5 separate regions of the Homo sapiens genome follow, and all the other regions are linked to region 4. Evidence: promoter capture Hi-C in 16 types of primary human blood cells and fetal thymus (Javierre and others, 2016). All regions are on one chromosome and are shown on one strand. The core of a region is centred on a gene start or on the middle of the fragment in contact, and the rest is flanking DNA. Distances in the headings are between cores, read along the strand shown. Region 1 overlaps LINC02937 (long intergenic non-protein coding RNA 2937). Region 2 overlaps LOC105376131 (a long non-coding RNA gene). Region 3 has its middle 18 kb from the start of SYK. Region 4 holds the start of CKS2 (CDC28 protein kinase regulatory subunit 2). Region 5 overlaps SYK (spleen associated tyrosine kinase).

Evidence for each region. The method cuts DNA at HindIII sites, captures the fragments that hold promoters and counts their contacts. A CHiCAGO score of 5 or more calls a contact.
Region 1: a contact is called between a fragment that was not itself captured here and the fragment with the promoter of CKS2 in region 4, in 1 of 17 cell types (naive CD8 T cells). The highest score is 8.2, in naive CD8 T cells.
Region 2: a contact is called between a fragment that was not itself captured here and the fragment with the promoter of CKS2 in region 4, in 1 of 17 cell types (monocytes). The highest score is 8.4, in monocytes.
Region 3: a contact is called between a fragment that was not itself captured here and the fragment with the promoter of CKS2 in region 4, in 2 of 17 cell types (neutrophils and total B cells). The highest score is 6.1, in neutrophils.
Region 5: a contact is called between a fragment that was not itself captured here and the fragment with the promoter of CKS2 in region 4, in 4 of 17 cell types (total B cells, naive B cells, megakaryocytes and 1 more). The highest score is 10.8, in total B cells.

What each region holds. Positions count from the first base shown.
Region 1 is chr9:91,149,779-91,152,808 of GRCh38, reverse strand. The region is part of intron 1 of LINC02937 (long intergenic non-protein coding RNA 2937); the gene reads left to right. All of the region lies in intron 2 of LINC00484 (long intergenic non-protein coding RNA 484), which reads right to left. Among named protein-coding and RNA genes, the nearest start is that of LINC02937, 12 kb to the left of the region's middle. The HindIII fragment of the contact is 1,058 bases long and covers 1,245-2,302 here.
Region 2 is chr9:87,978,206-87,981,473 of GRCh38, reverse strand. All of the region lies in intron 1 of LOC105376131 (a long non-coding RNA gene), which reads right to left. Among named protein-coding and RNA genes, the nearest start is that of CDK20, 5.3 kb to the right of the region's middle. The HindIII fragment of the contact is 662 bases long and covers 1,674-2,335 here.
Region 3 is chr9:90,782,207-90,785,379 of GRCh38, reverse strand. No RefSeq gene overlaps it. Among named protein-coding and RNA genes, the nearest start is that of SYK, 18 kb to the left of the region's middle. The HindIII fragment of the contact is 5,045 bases long and covers 1-3,173 here.
Region 4 is chr9:89,309,832-89,312,927 of GRCh38, reverse strand. It overlaps CKS2 (CDC28 protein kinase regulatory subunit 2), which reads right to left and starts at 1,733. Exons shown (of 3, transcript NM_001827.3): 1 at 1,577-1,733. The coding sequence starts at 1,635. It overlaps MIR3153 (microRNA 3153), which reads right to left and starts at 703; the gene lies at 622-703. It overlaps LOC105376136 (a long non-coding RNA gene), which reads left to right and starts at 2,126. Exons shown (of 3, transcript XR_930101.4): 1 at 2,126-3,096. RefSeq lists enhancers at 1,178-1,227, 1,898-2,187 and a silencer at 2,198-2,427. The HindIII fragment of the contact is 1,703 bases long and covers 981-2,683 here.
Region 5 is chr9:90,824,081-90,827,289 of GRCh38, reverse strand. All of the region lies in intron 1 of SYK (spleen associated tyrosine kinase), which reads right to left. Among named protein-coding and RNA genes, the nearest start is that of SYK, 24 kb to the right of the region's middle. The HindIII fragment of the contact is 826 bases long and covers 1,167-1,992 here.

The DNA.
Region 1 (3,030 bases), core at 524-3,023, 1.8 Mb before region 4:
GTAAATGTTTGTAGGTAAAAGATGGGAATCAGATCTACCCAGACAGCTCTTCATGCATGCACGTTGGGGAGACAGAAAACTCACCATCCAGGGAAGGCTTTCACCCATGTGATGACTTATTTTATGAGTCAATTTGAGTGGACCGTAGGTGCTCAGATTAAACATTATTTGGGTGTGTCTGTGACAGTTTTCTGATGGGATTAGCATTTGAACCAGAAGACTTAGTGAAGCGGATGCCCTTCTCAATGTAGGTGGGCCTCATCCAACCCCTTGAGGGTCTGCACAAAACAAAAGACAGAGAACAGAGGAATTTGCTCTCTTCCCCCCTTTCCTCCATGCTTGAGCTGGGACATCTCATTTCTTCTTCTTCTGCCCTGGGATTGGGATTTACATCATCTGTTCCCCTGGTTCTCAGGCTGTTGGAACAGGAGTGAATTGTAACACTGGCTTTCTTGGGTCTCCAGTTTGCAGATGGCAGATCTCAGGGCTTGTCAGCCTCCATAACTGTGTGAGCCAATTCCTCAGATAAATTTCTTCCTGTGTACATACCCTGTTGGCTCTGTCTCTGGAGAAGCCTGTCTAATTCACATGTGGTGGGCAGGGATGGTTAGCTGGCTGAGCTCCTCCCTTTCCTCACTCCATGTTGTCCTGTGCTCTCCCTGGGCCATTGGGGTGACAGAGGGGAGGAAGGGAGGGAGGAGACGCAGTGGAGAGGATGGAGGAGGTTTGCTGGGGAGTGCAAGGGGCAGTAAAGGGCAGCAAAGGGCAGCAAAAGGCAGCTGAGCTGTGTGGGAGGCAGGGAGTGGGAAAGCAAGATGGCGGCGGGAGGTTGAGGGATGTGGTGGGAGCTCAGTCCCCTTGTGTGGTTGGAGACTTGCAGAGCTGGCTTGATTATCCTCAAGTCCCCTTTGGTCCCTGGGCAGCAACACCCACGAAAAAGTGCTGATTTCCCCAGACCATGGTGCAGCTACCACCCACTGAACCAGGGTTGAAGCTTTTATACTCAAGGGAGAGTGGAAACTTCTAGAATAGGGAACAGCTTGGTGAGCAGGTAAATATGGGCAGGCAACATTTCCGAGAGTGGGTGTGCAGATGGTGGGCAGTGGGGGGGAGGCACACTATTTTTTTTTCCCCAAAAGAACTAACTCATTCCTTAACTCATTCCTTAGAGAAAACTTCATGAAAACAGAAACAACGATGCTCCCAGAATCACAATCATATGTTGGATTTACTCACTTGAAGCTTCTCTCCAGATGTGGTTAAGGAAATATGACAAATAGACCTTGTTCTGATTTTTACTTTCTCTAAAGAACTAATATAGCTGATGGATTTATGATGAGAAAGCCATTAACACCATGAGCTGGATTCATAGTGCTCCTTGTCTCTCAAAAAATTGAGATACTTTGAAATAATAGGTATGTTTCTTTAAGAACACATTCTAGAAATTCAGGGCAAGAAGACCCTGCATCTGAAAGAACACACAAGTGGACATTCTGTGTTCAGAGAGACGAGAAGTTCCTGCCCTGGGGGACTATTTGGGTACTCAGTGTTCATAATGATAAGATTCATTTAAAAGGCAAAAACCCACAAACTAAAATGCGGTCAAACTGTTGCAGAGAGTAGGGGTGACGTACAAGGTGAAGGAAACAGAAGTTTTGTGGTTTAATAGCTGGTTTCATGATGAGTTATGGTATTTCTTCAGAAAAACTCTGCAAGCAGTTACGTGGTGCTATTAGACAGCTTTGGGAACTAATTCAGTCATGGTTTTGTAACTCATCTTCAATGGTGCTTGTTTTTTTGTTTGTTTGTTTTTGGTTCGTCTTCACAGTCACAGCCCAATATTTTTGTTTGGAGGTGGGGAGGGAGTGGGTTCCAATTATCTGCTGCTGTGTAATAAACCATCCAAAATGCAGCAGCATAGAGCTACCATTTTATTATTCCAGTTCTTCAGATTGCCTGGGGTCAGCAGGATGGTTCTTCTGCTGACCTCCTTTGGGGTCTCTCCTATTGGCAATGACTGGTAATAGGGCTGAATCACCTGGCCCTGGGACTAGGAAATGGAACATGGACAGCTGAGCCTCTCTCTTTCTCCTTGTGGCCTCAGGACTTCTCCATGTAGTCTCTCCAGCAGGTCGATGGTCTTTTAAAATCAGGGGTCAGCAAACTTTTCAGTACAAGACCAAATATTTTAGACTCTTTGACCATATAGTCTATGTCACAAGTACTCAACTCTACCATTGTAATGCAAAGGTAGCCATAAATGCCCATAAACAGATGGACATTGCTCTGCTGCAATAAAGCTTTATTTACAAAAATAGACAGTGGGCTGGATTTGGCCCATGGGCCATAGTTTGCCAACCCCTGTCTTACATGGTGGTTCAGGACTCCCAAGAGCACAAGAACAAACATTGCCAAGCTCTACAAGTTAGGCCCAGAACAGGCACAGAGTCACCTGATACACTGTTGACTAAAGTGGGTCTCAGGCTTAGTCCAGACACAATGTTGGAAAGCAGGGAAGAAAGAATGTTTCTTCCGCCCTTTTAGGTTTAGTGACTGTGGCCTGCAAATTAAACTAACAAAGGACAGATTAACAGGAGAAAAAGTATACAAATTGTATTTGATGTTAATATCTTAATTTTTGGGCTGGGCATGGTGGCTCATGCCTGTAATCCCAGCACTTTGGGAGACTGAGGCAGGCAGATCACTTGAGGCCAGTAGTTTGAGATCAACCTGGCCAACATGGCGAAACCCCGTCTCTACTAAAAATACAAAATTAGCTGGGCATGGTGGTGCACACCTGTAATCCTAGCTACTCAGCAGGCTGAGGCAGGAGAATCGCTTGAAGCCCTGAGGTAGGAGAATCGCTTGAAGCCAGGAGGCGAAGGTTGCAGTGAGCTGAGATCGCACCCACTGCACTCCAAGCCTGGGCAAAAGAGCGAGAGTCAGCCAGGCATGGTGGCTCATGCCTGTAATCCCAGCAGTTTGGGAGGCCAAGGTGGGCAGATGACCTGAGGTCAGGAGTTCGAGACT
Region 2 (3,268 bases), core at 755-3,254, 1.3 Mb after region 4:
GGCTGTGTTTTTGAGGTCTTACTCATAAAGTCTTTTCCCAGACCAATATCCTGAAGCACTTCCCCTATGTTTTCTACTAGTAGTTTTATAGTTTTTTGTGTTACTTTTAGGTCTTTGATCCATTTTGGGTTGATTTTTGTATAAGGTGAGAGGTGGAGGTCTAATTTCATTTTTCTGCATATGGATATCCAATTTTCCCAGCACTATTTGTTGAAGACATTGTCTTTTCCTCAGTAAGTGTTCTTGGTGCCTTTGTCAACAATCAGTTTGCTATATATATGTGGATTAATTTCTGGGTTCTCTATTCTGTTCCATTGGCCCACGTGTCTGTTTTAAGGTCAGTACTATGCAGTTTGTGTTACTACAACTTTGTAGTAGATTTTGAAGTCAGGTAGTGTGATGCCTTCAGTTTCGTTCTTTTTGCATAGGATTGCTTTGGCTATTCAGAATCTTTTGTGTCTCCACATTGTTTTTAAATCTTTTTTTCTATTTCTGTGAAGAATGTCATTGGCATTTTGATAGGGATTGCATTGAATCTGTAGATTGCTTTGGGTAGTATGGTCATTTTTTTTTTTTTTTTTTTTTTTTTTTTTGAGACAGAGTCTCACTCTGTCACCCAGGCTGGAGTGCAATGGTGCAATCTCGGCTCACTGCAACCTCTGCCTCCCTGGTTCAAGCTATTCTCCTGCCTCAGCCTCCCGAGTAGCTGGGATTAGAGCTGCCTGCCACCGTGCCCGGCTATTTTCTGTATTTTTAGTAGAGACAGGGTTTCGCATGTTGGCCAGGCTGGTCTCAAACTCCTGACCTCAGATGATCCACCTGCTTCGGCCTCCCAAAGTGCTGGGATTACAGGTGTGAGCCACCATGCCCGGCACAGTATGGTCATTTTAACAATATTAATTCTTGTACTCCATGAGCATGGGATGTCTTTCCATTTATTTGTATACTCTTCCATTTCTTTTATCACTGTTTTTTAGTTTCCTTGTGGAGGTCTTTCACCTCCCTGGTTGGATTTATACCTAGGTATTTTATTATTTTTTATTTTTTGTAGCTATTGTAAATGTGATTGCCTTTCTTTTTCAGCTAGTTTATTGTTCAAATATAGGAACACTACTGATACTTATATGTTGATTTTGTATCCTAAAACTTAACTAAATGTATCAGTTCTAAGAGTTTTTTGGTAGAACCTTTAGGTTTTTCCATATATAAGATCATGCCATCTGCAAATAGGGACAATTTGACTTTCTGCTTTCCAATTTTGATACCCTTTCTTTCTCTTGCCTAATTACCCTGGCTATTATTACATTTGTTGCCTATGTTTTTAGTGTTACATGAAGAAGTCACTGTCAGGCCAGGTGCGGTGGCTCATGCCTGTAATCCCAGCACGTTGGGAGGCCGAGGCAGGCAAATCATGAGGTCAAGAGATCGAGACCATCCTGGCCAACATGGTGAAACCCTGTCTCTACTAAAAATACAAAAATTAGTTGGGCGTGGTGGCATGCGCCTGTAGTCCCAGGTACTTGGGAGGCTGATACAGGAGAATTGCTTGAATCTGGGAGGCAGAGGTTGCAGTGAGCCGAGATCATGCCATTGTACTCCAGCCTGGCAACAGAGTGAGACTGTGTCTTAAAAAAAAAAAAAGAAGTCACTGTCAAACCCAATATTATGAAGCTTTTCCCTTATGTCCTTATGTTCTCCTCTAAGAGTTTTATAGTTTTAGCTCTTTCATTTAGGTTTTCTTTTTTTTTTTTTTTTTTGAAACAGAGCCTCCCTCTGTTGCCCACGCTGGAGTTCAGTGGCGTGACCTCAGCTCACTGCAACCTCCACCTCCTGGTTTCAAGTGATTCTCCTGCCTCAGCCTCCTGAGTAGCTGGGATTACAGGCATATGCCCCAATGCCCAGCTCATTTTTTTGTATTTTCAGTAGAGACAGGGTTTCACCATGTTGGCCAGGCTGGTCTCGAACTCCTGACCTCAAGTGATCCGCGGGCCTTGGCCTCAAGTGATCCTGCCTCAGCCTCCCAAAGTGCTGAGATTACAGGTGTAAGCCAGTGCACCTGGTGTAAATTTGGGTCTTTAATCCATTTTGAGTTAGTTTTTCCATATGATATAAGGGGTCAATTTTTTCATTTTCTTGCATGTAGAGCTCTAGCTTTCTCACCATCATTAGTTAAAGAGACTGTCCTTTCCCCATTGAATGGTCTTCATAATTTTTTTAAAAATCATTTGATCAGGTATGTGAAGATTTACTTCTAGGCTCTCCATTCTATTCCATTGGGCTGTCTGCCTTTATGTCAGTACCACACTTTTTTGATTACTATAGCTTGTGGTAAGCTTTAAAATCTGGACGAGTAAGACCTCCTCCTTTTTTAAGATTGGTTTTGGCTATTTAGGGCCTCTTGAGAATCCACATTGGTTTCTGAATAATTTTTTTTTCTAATTCTGCAAAAAAGAAATCCCATGGAGATTCCATTAAACCTTTAAATTGTTTTCAGTAGTATTGACATATTCAAAATATTAAGTCCTTCAGTCCATGAACACAAGATGTCTATTTATTTGTGTCTTTCTTTCAGCAACATTTTTTAGTTTTCAACCTATGAGTCTTTTGCTTCCTTATTTACTCCTAAGTATTTTATTCTTTTTGATATTATTGTAAATGGAATTATTTTCTTAATTTCTGTTTCAGAGTGCTCATTGTTAGTATATAGAAACTATTGATTTTTGCATATTGATTTTGAATCTTGCTACTCTGTTTATCTTGTTTATTAGTTTTAACAGTTTTTTGTGGCATATTTAGGATTTTCTACATATATTATCATGTTGTCTCTAGACAGAGATAGTTTTTTCTTTCCAATTTGGATGCTATTTATTTATTTACCTACATTCATTTATTTATTTATTAGACGGAGTCTCACTCTGTCACCCAGGCTGGAGTGCAGTGGTGCGATCTCGGCTCACTGCAACCTCCGCCTCCCGGGTTCAAGCGATTCTCTTGCCTCAGCCTCCCAAGTAGCTGGGACTACAGGTGCGTGCCACCATGCCCGGCTAATTTTTGTATTTTCAGTAGAAATGGGGTTTCGCCATGTTGGCCAGGCTGGTCTTGAACTCCTGACCTCAGGTAATCCACCTGCCTCAGCCTCCCAAAGTGCTGGGATTACAGGCATGAGCCGCTGTGCCCGGCCTATTTATGTATTTATTTATTTATTTTTCTAATTGCTTTGGCTAGGACTTCCAGTATTATATAAAATAAAAGCGGCAAAAGTGAGGAT
Region 3 (3,173 bases), core at 578-3,077, 1.5 Mb before region 4:
GTGGCAGAAGTGACGGCATTTTTATTTTAAGCCTAGCCTTTTAGAGGATGGACAGCTTAGGTCTTGGTCTCTTGGAACCCTGAACTGCCATGTAAGAACTCCAAAGATTGCTGGAGAGGCCAAAGGGTGGGGCAGAGTTGGAGGTGCAAAGCTGAGCCCAGTCTTCCCCAATCTTTGCCAAGGCTGTGTTAACAGCCTGAAAGCCAGCTGAGTGCCTAGTTAATGCCATGTGAAGCAGAAGAATCACCTAGCTGAGCTCCGCCTGAGCTTCTGAGTCACAAAATCGTGAGATATTTAAGAATGATTGTTGTTTCAAGGCACCAGGTTTTGGGGTAATATGTTACATAGCTTACCTAGTAATAGCTAACCAGAACAGGTAGTGGTGTGAGGTTGTGCCTAGGGCCAACTTCATAATCTGTGGGGCCCAGTACAAAATAAAAAATGGATCCTGGTTCAAAAAGCAAAATAAAATGGCCATTAAAGGTATTAAAATATAAAACCTTTTTTCTCTTCTGTTGTCTCTTTCAAGATGTCAGTGTTTTTTTAAATTTGCTATTGAATGTCATTCTAACTAAATAAAAATAGAAATTATAAATTATTAATACGGACTTTACCATTTATCTTTACATAGAATTTGTTATGCCAGTTTTAAATGTAAACATAAAAACATTGGACTCGTATGCGGAATCACCAAAATTACACAATTTGCACTTTGTAGTTCTTATGTGCTTATATAGTTCATTCTTTACGAGAACAGTGGTGATGCTGCACAAAACAAACTCAGTCATTTCTATTTCACTTCTTGCTATGTGCACAAGCACCAGCACCCTCTCAGCACCAGCAGTCTGCAGGCAGAGTCTGCCATTAAAGGGGTCGTGACTACCTTGGGAAATACACTGTGGTCCATTAAAGGGGTCGTGACTACCTTGGGAAATACACTGTGGTCCAGAGCACACCAGGCACCAGGAATCGTGACCTTTTATCTGGATGCAGGAAAGAGAAATGATCTTTGAGGTCCAGGGTGCATATTGGAGTGGCGTAATAGGAGCTAGGGGGAGAGAAGTTATCATCCTTCTTGTGGGTGTTAAAGAAACATCCAAATTAGGATGGCAGTCACGTGTATATTTCACATTCCGCGGCTATTTTCATGGCCTTACTGGGAAATGTGCCTGGGAATTAGATTTTCTTATACACGTGTCAAGCCCTGGGAGTGTTATTTGAAAGCGTGCTATTTCTTTATGAAATTTAATACTTTTGTCCTTGGAAAATGTCTGAGATATTGCTGACCAAGGATGTTTTTAGTATACAGCTGATAACACTGTTATTGTTGTACTCTGATACATCTCGATAGCAAGCCAAATTAACATGACATTCTGCACCTTTACGATCTACCATCTAACTTTCCTAGATAAATTCTGAGAAATAAAAATAAAATTCTAAGTCCCCTAACTAACTGAATGGACTCCCTCTTTGTCCAAGGAGCCTCAGAGAAGCCTTAAAAACTGAGTTGCCAGCCATGCCAGGCACACAGGAGGTGGGACACGCCTTGTTATGCCACCTCCCTTACTGCCATCAATCTTCCTTCTCTAACAGACAGAAACCAGCTCTTTTGAAAGACTCGCTTCACCTCTGATTTACACAACAACTGACTGGCATTCCTTCCTGATAAAAGACCACTGGCCGTAGACTGGCTCTGGCAGGTATTCACAGGCTGCAGACAACATGCCCCTGTGTCCTTGCTTTCACTTTGTGACATACAGAGTGAAATTATAATGCAATTAAATGTAAGTCTTCACCCCAAATGAATATGAGATGAATGTAACATGGATGTTTGCTTGCTATGAATGTGTGCACCCCCTTCATAATTATTCTCAGCCCTTCCTATAACTATTGAATATGTATACTTAGCTAGCCCATTCAGCCCAAATTTCTGTCTCACCTTTCCCTCTTTCAAAGTGCCTGCTTTTGGTTTCTACCAGAAGCTATGCTTCCCAGCCTGCACAGTGGGCAGCCTGCTGGATGCAAGCCTTTATAAGAAATAACACTCTCCTCTCCAAATTTATGAATCTCATGATTCTTTAGTTAACAATTACCCAAGCCAGATACTTCTTACTTGATGAATATTTCTTAGGTGAAGAGCAGCTGAACTTTAATACAAAATTCACATATTTATTTGTCTTTAAAACACTGTGTAATTGGCTGGGTGCAGTGGCTCACACCTGTAATCTCAGCACTTTGGGAGGCTGAGGTGGGCAGATCACCTGAGGTCAAGAGTTTGAGACCAGCCTGACCAACATAGAGAAATCTCGTCTCTACTAAAAATACAAAATTAGCCGGGTGTGGTGGTACATATCTGTAATCCCAGCTACTCGGGAGGCTGAGGCAGGAGAATCGCTTGAACCCAGGAGGTGGAGGTTGTGGTGAGTGGAGACTGTGCCATTGCACGCTAGCCTGGGCAACAAGAGCGAAACTCCATCTCAAAACAAACAAACAAACAAACAAAAAAACATGGTCTAATCCATTCTACAGCACATTTCTACAATCATCAAAAGTGGAAGCTCAATATGGAGAAACAGAGACATACCTGCAAAAATTTTTGTATACAGTTTTTTCAAGATCTCAGCTTTCCAATATAAAACATACATACTTTATGTTGACAAAACAATGAGAAATTGTCCTTACATCTCTCTGCCAACTGCATCTTCTTCCAACATCTATTATATATGCAATGTCTACTGAGCATTATGCAGGCCTAAGCTCTGGGGGTGCAGGACAGGCAAGGTCTCTATTTTGCAGAAGCAAACAGTTTAGCAGGCAGATAGGCAATCAACAGTAAACTGATAAATATGTGATATGTAAAGGCATGTTTAATAAGAGCCCTTTCTTTTGAAACAGGACACAATTGCAGGTGCTGGTTATTATACCAAGGCTTTGACTAGAATAACATTATTAGGTGAAGCTCCAGCAAAGTCAACTTGAAAAGAGTCTCTATGGCCAACTGTAAAAAGTAAAGTAGAGGTTCCTCTTCAAAGACTTTCCTCCCCGTCTAATTAGGAATAAATAGTAACTTCTCTTAGAAGCAAAATTTATTCAAAGACCTGTGCTAACATTCTTAAATATCTGCTAGCCATAATAAAAAAATCAATATACAATTTATGTTCCTAGCTCCCACA
Region 4 (3,096 bases), core at 484-2,983:
TATTTTCAATATTATACCCTAAAAGAAACTTGTACCGACCCTTAAATCCTTATCCTAAACACTTGGCACCAGATGTGTTTCAGAATAATTTTCTAGGTTTTAGTAAGATTATTACGGTTTACATTGTGTTCATTATTGGATATCCTCAATAGGGCTCTTGATTAACATCGCATAATTGAACACTGCCAGCATATTACACGAGTATAGTTTATTATTACTATAAGGTTAACACAATCTACTTGAAATTTACCTACAGCCAGAAAAACATGCTATTTTTCTAGCTAGGAATACAAAAGGGTGCAATTACTACTACCCATAGAAATATTCAGTAGTCCTCATGTGAAAACAGACTTCCATGCTACTAGGGAGGGGGAGAAAAAGAGAAACCACCCACTGTTTTGTTCTTTCTTCCTTAAATAGCATTCGGAGAAATCTAACCTACAAAGGCAGCAGACAGAAAACAAGGTCACAATTTGGCCAACGATGGCATGGGCTTTATCTCCCCTAAATCTTGGTAGTATCCCAGAACGCAGCGTTCTAGTCGCTACCTAGTTAAGAAAAAGGGGTTGACTGTTTTCTGAAGCCACGCCCTAAATGAAGTGTCCCGCATACAGTAAGGACAACAAATTTTAAATGTCCCTACTCGCTTTCCCCCAATCTACTTTAATTGGGGGGAAGGGGACAGGGACATTTAAAATTTGTCTAATTTTACTGATCGATTACAGCCACCATGTTCTAGTACGGTGCTTCAGGACTCAAACGCAAAAGTTTCTCAAAGCCCAAAATTTGGCCAGTGTATACTAGCAGAAAATGATGCCCAAAGTCCACTCAAGTTCTTAATCGGCCTTAAAATGAAACTCCTTTAATAATACCCTCAATTGTATGACTGCGGCTAACCTATAATGGCCCAAATCACCATACCCAGTAAACATTTTCGAATCCCCATCAAGCTCATTTTTCGGGGGGTCGCCTCCAAAGCTTATTCTTATACCACTCACTTCAAAAACAAGAAAAAGAAAAGTGTTCCTCTGTGTTAACAGATGAAAATGACCATTTGACCATTCTAAACCACAAACTAGTAAAAGCTGCATCACCCCGTCAGCGACAGGGAAAGTGTGTCACGGTTGCTAAAGGAAAAAGGACGGCACCAGGTGGGTTTTCCTGGACTGGTTCAAAGAACTGGAACTGAGACCAGCTACTGAACGGCCTAATTACTTCGGCCACGGCCGAGAAAAAAGTGACGGGATGGTCACTCCGCGTCGCCGAGGACCCCATGACCCCCAAGTTGCGCCGGTTCCTACCCAGGTACTAAATGCGGCCCGGTGGGCACTCTTCCCTCACCCTCCGCGCACACCGAACAAAGGCCCAACCGGCCCGGCGCGGCCAGGCACCCAACCATGTCCGACTGCGCGGGGCGCCAGGTGGCCGCGACCCCAAACCCCGGCCCTCGCCCTCCGGCCCCGGGCTCCGCCCCCCAGGCCCCGGCCCCCACCCCCGACCCTACTATGCCTGGGTCGCCCCGCCCGCGGGGGCCCCGGCTGAGGGAGCCGGCTCGGGGTCTAAGAAAGGCGCCCACCGGTACTCGTAGTGTTCGTCGAAGTACTTGTCCGAGTAGTAGATCTGCTTGTGGGCCATCCTGCTGGCGCGCTGCAGAAAATGAAACGAGAGCGCGAAGAGCGGGCGCAGCAGACAAAACCACGTCCAGCCCAGGCAACAACTCGCCGGAGACTAACGACCGCAGTCCCAACGATCCGGATTTGAATCCGACAGCCCGCCGCCGATTGGACAGCAGCGCCGACCAATCACCTTCTGCGGAAGTCGGCCGGCTGCCAGCCTATCGTCGCCGCCGCCTCGCAAAGTCCGCTTCCTGGGTCAGCCAATCAGAGATCTGTTGCGAGGTTGCCCGAGGGAAGATAGGTACGTCACGGGGGTGGCAGGGCCCTTAACGGGCAGGGGCGTGGCCAGAGGAGGGCGAAGTCGGGACGTTAAGGGCCGCAGAGCGCGTGCGCAGGAACGTGGAAAGTTCCAGGACACGGAACCGTTGGGACGGAGGACCTGAAGGTGGAGTGAGGTATCACGGGGTTTGGTGATGACGTAGTCGGTCGAGGCCGGAAGCGTGGGCCACAGGGCTTTGAGCGGAAGCTGTCGACCTTGCACGGTGATGGCGCTCCTCGTGATCCCTTGTATCCCCTCAGGCTCGAGCCAGGAGCCTAGGTCCACTTTGAAAAGTAGTAAAAGGCAGAAAGGTTCTGCGGTGTGAGGGGGAGGGCGGCTTCGTGGTCGGCTGGGTCGGGGGAGCGCCGGGCGGCCGCGGCGTGGCTGTGTCCGGGGCTGCCCTGCGCAGCCGGCCGTTTCGCCGCCTGGTGCACTTGCTGAGCTTCCGGCCTGGCCCGTCGCGGGGCTCCTGGCGCCCCCCTAGACGACTGTGTGGAGAATGGAGCCTGCGGAGCCACGCGTAGAGAGAGGCCCGGAGCCGGCGCGGTGGCGGCGGGCGCCAGTGGTCCCAGCCACTCGGGAGGCCGAGGTGGAGTGTCGCTTGAGCCCAGGAGTTCCAGACAGGCCTGAGCAACAGAGCCAGACCCCGTCTCCACAAAGAAAGAAACAAATGGGCCAGAGACCCAGAATGCTTTCTGTAGCCTAACCTAATGTTCAAAACCAGGGCAGACCCAAGCCATGGAAAGCTTGAGGGAATAAAATAATATTCTGCTGCGGCCAAGAATAACAATGCTAATTCCTGGATAAGGGGATTTAAAATGATGTTTAACAACTTCTGGTCTTTTAATATTGACCCAAGTTTAAAAACATGTTCATATAAAAAAGTTACTGGAAGAAATTTATAAATGTAACTGGTGGTTATTTTTAGATGACAGAATTAAAAGTGATCTTTTTGGTATTTTTTCCACAACGAGCACGTGTCATTTTTATGTTAATTTCATTTTATGCGAAATGCTCCAGCGCAGTACAGGCTAGTGGGTTCAGGGTGGCTGTGACTAAGTAATGTAGATGGGGTACCTTAGACAAAGTTTCCAGACTAGAGGCTGGAAGTAAGAGGTCCGGGTGCCCTTTTCCACACTGCAGACCACGGACTTTTCCGGT
Region 5 (3,209 bases), core at 330-2,829, 1.5 Mb before region 4:
AATGAAGTAATGCTCTGAGACATGGATCCCTCCAGAACACACACCAGTTGAGGAGGGAGTCAGTGGACAGGGCTGTGCCATTTAGTGCTTAGCCAGCCTGGAAATGCCCTTTCCCAAGTGTTTTTACCAAAAATGAACTTGGTCTTGAATTGCTGGAATGGGTATAGCGAGGTTTTCCTGATTGTTTTATGTTTTTTTAAAAAGTCCTACATCATAACATGTATCAAATTCAACCAGAAGATTGAACCAAATAGGAAGAGCATCCTTGAAAAGATCTTAATGGAGACCTCAAGATGCTAATTGCCAGCCAGGAGACTGAAAAAGTCAAGCAGAGATGGTCTTAATGGCGGAAAGGCCAATGTGTAGGGCAGAGGAAAGAAGGGTGCCAGCTCTCTCTGTCCCTGTTCCCAGGCCTCCTGGTCAGACAGCTGCTCATGGTGCTAGCAACAGATGCAACTTTACAGAGCACCTCTGACCAGCTCCCTCAGGGTACTTTTCAAGCATCTACTAACATTCCCTTACTCTGTGAAGCAAGCAGCTTTTTAATTTCCCACTGCAGTCTGTGACATCCTCCACACTCAAGAAGGGCCAGAAGCTCAGCCAGGGCCCACTCCACAAAAGGCCGTGAAACATCCCTGGAAACGCAAGATAAAAAGGAACCCTCTCCAGAGCTGTAGAAGCTGGAAGGAGTCATGTTGATGAGTTTACTGGGGTGGGGTTAGGAGCCTCGCGAGGGAAGTGTTCAGAAACACAACAGTAGGCAATCTGCACCTGCACCCCAAACTTGTGAAAATGACAGCTTCATGAAAAACAAGTTCTCATTTTATAGAAGATAAACTTCAGCCACAGAAGAGGTTGGCTGTACATCTTTAGTGCTGGCCAGAATGGCCATGATGATGAAGGTGATGAGGATAATGCAAAACAGCTATTCCATGAGTACTTGACTCAAAGGTTATCAACTGATGTGCACAACATCCCTAATGGTAGATACTATTGTTATCCTCAATTCACAGACCTGGTCATCGAGCCTCAGGAGGGTCAACTGGCTTGCTGAAGAACACACAGTATGTGGTGGAGCCAATATTTGAAGCCTGCCTCTTCTCTTAGCTACCATCTTCAGGTGGCAGTGCAAAGGCCCTCATAGTCAACCCATCCAAATGTAAGCTTGGGGCTTTCCTGCCTAACTTGGAGCTCCTTCTTGTTCCCTGGAGCTGGGTTCTCAATGTGCGTCTCTGGACCAGCAATGTCAGCATCACCAGGAAACATGGAGGATATGAAAATTCTTAGGGTTCCACCCTGACCTGCCAAATCAGAAACTCTGGGGTGAAGCTCTAGGTTTTGTATTTTAAAGGCTCAAGTTTGAGAACCTTGGCCCAAGAGCTCCATCCATTTATGAAGATGAAAATCCAAGCTCTCTTAGATCATTCCCTTCTCTACACTGCTGAAAGTCAACCCCTTGCCAATCCCTCCCATCTCACGTCTCAGCCTCCCACACATGCCTACTTGTCTCCAAAACCACATAACATCCTTTTCCTCCACATCTCTTTTGAGTAGCTCTGGCTGTCAGTGCCCCCACCTTGCTCCCTTCCTACATGTTCTAAGCTGTGGCCCTTTTCTCTGCTAAAAATCCTCCACTGTCCAGGCTACCCTTTGAGCTCAGGATAAACATGTCCCTGTCCCCACAGTCAAAACTAACATGCTTTCCTTTTGTACCACTGACCACTGTTTTGACTTAATTTACCTTTACTTTCTAGCATGTGAATTTTTGATGAATGTCTGTTTGTCCCATAAGGGCAGAAATTGTATCTGTTTCTAGTAAGACTTGAAATTGAGTAGTGTGAGTCCTCCAACTTTGTCCTTTTTAGTGGGTATTGTGTTGGGTATTCTAGATCTTTTACCTTCCCAAGTAAAGTTCAGAATCATTTCATCATTAGCTACAAAACAGCTTGCTGGGATTTTGATTGGGATTGGGTTGAATCTACAGATCAAGCTTGGCAGAATGAACATTTTAACAACATTGAGTCTTCCAATGTACGAACATGGACTACTTTTCCATTTACTTACATCTTCTTTGATTCTTCCATCATTATTTTGTAGTTTTCTGCATACAGATCCTGTACATATTTTGTTAGATTTATACCTAAGTATTTTCTTGTGTTTTTTTTTTTTTGTCTTTTTGGTGCTATTATACATGGTAATTATTCTTATTTCAAATTTCAATAGTTAACTACTGGTATATAGGAAAGCAACCGACTTTTGTATATTGATCTAGCATCCTGTAGACTCACTTATTGGTTATTAGAGTTGTTTTATGGATTCTTTGAAGTTCTCCATATGGACATGCATATTATCTGTGAAAAAAGATGTCTTATTTCTTCTTTTCTGATCTGTATAAGTTTTGTTTTGTTTTCTTGCACTAGCTAGGGCTCCCAGTAGGATGTTGAACAGAGTGGTAAGAGAGGACAGTCTTACCTTGTTTTCAGTATCAGAGGGACAGTGTTCAGTCTCTCACCATTAAGTATGATGTTACCTGTAGGTTTTTTTTTTTAATGCTCTTTATCAAGTTACAAAAGTTTTCCTCTATTCCTAGTTTAAGATTTTTTTTTTGACATGAAAGAGTGTTTTGAGTTTGTCAAATGCCCTTTCTGCCTCCATTAACATGGTCATATGATTTTTCTTCTCTAGCCCATTGATGTGATGTATCACATTAATTTATTTTCAAATGTTGAACCTGTTTTGCATACCTGGAATAAATTCCACTTGGCTGTGGTACATAGCTCTTTTCATACGTTGTTGGGTTTGATTTTCTAACATTTTGTTGAGGGTTTTTGTATATATAAGTAATATTGCTTTGTTTTCTTGTAATGCCTTAACTGGTTTTGGTATTACGTGAAATCTGAACTCATAAAATGAATTAGAAACTGTTTCCTCCATTTCTATTTTCTGGAAGAGATTATGGAAAACTGGTATTCTTTCTTTCTTAAGTGTTTGACAGAATTCACTAGTGGACCCATCTGGGCCTGATGATTTCTGTTTTAAAGGTTATATTAATTTAAATTTTAAAGATATAGGGCTATTCAGGCTACCTATTTCTTCTGTAAGTTTTAGTAGTTTGTGTCACTCAAGCATTAGTTTATTTCACCTAAGTTACCACATTTGTGAGTACAGAGTTGTTCATGATCTTCCTTTATCATCTTTTTATATCCATT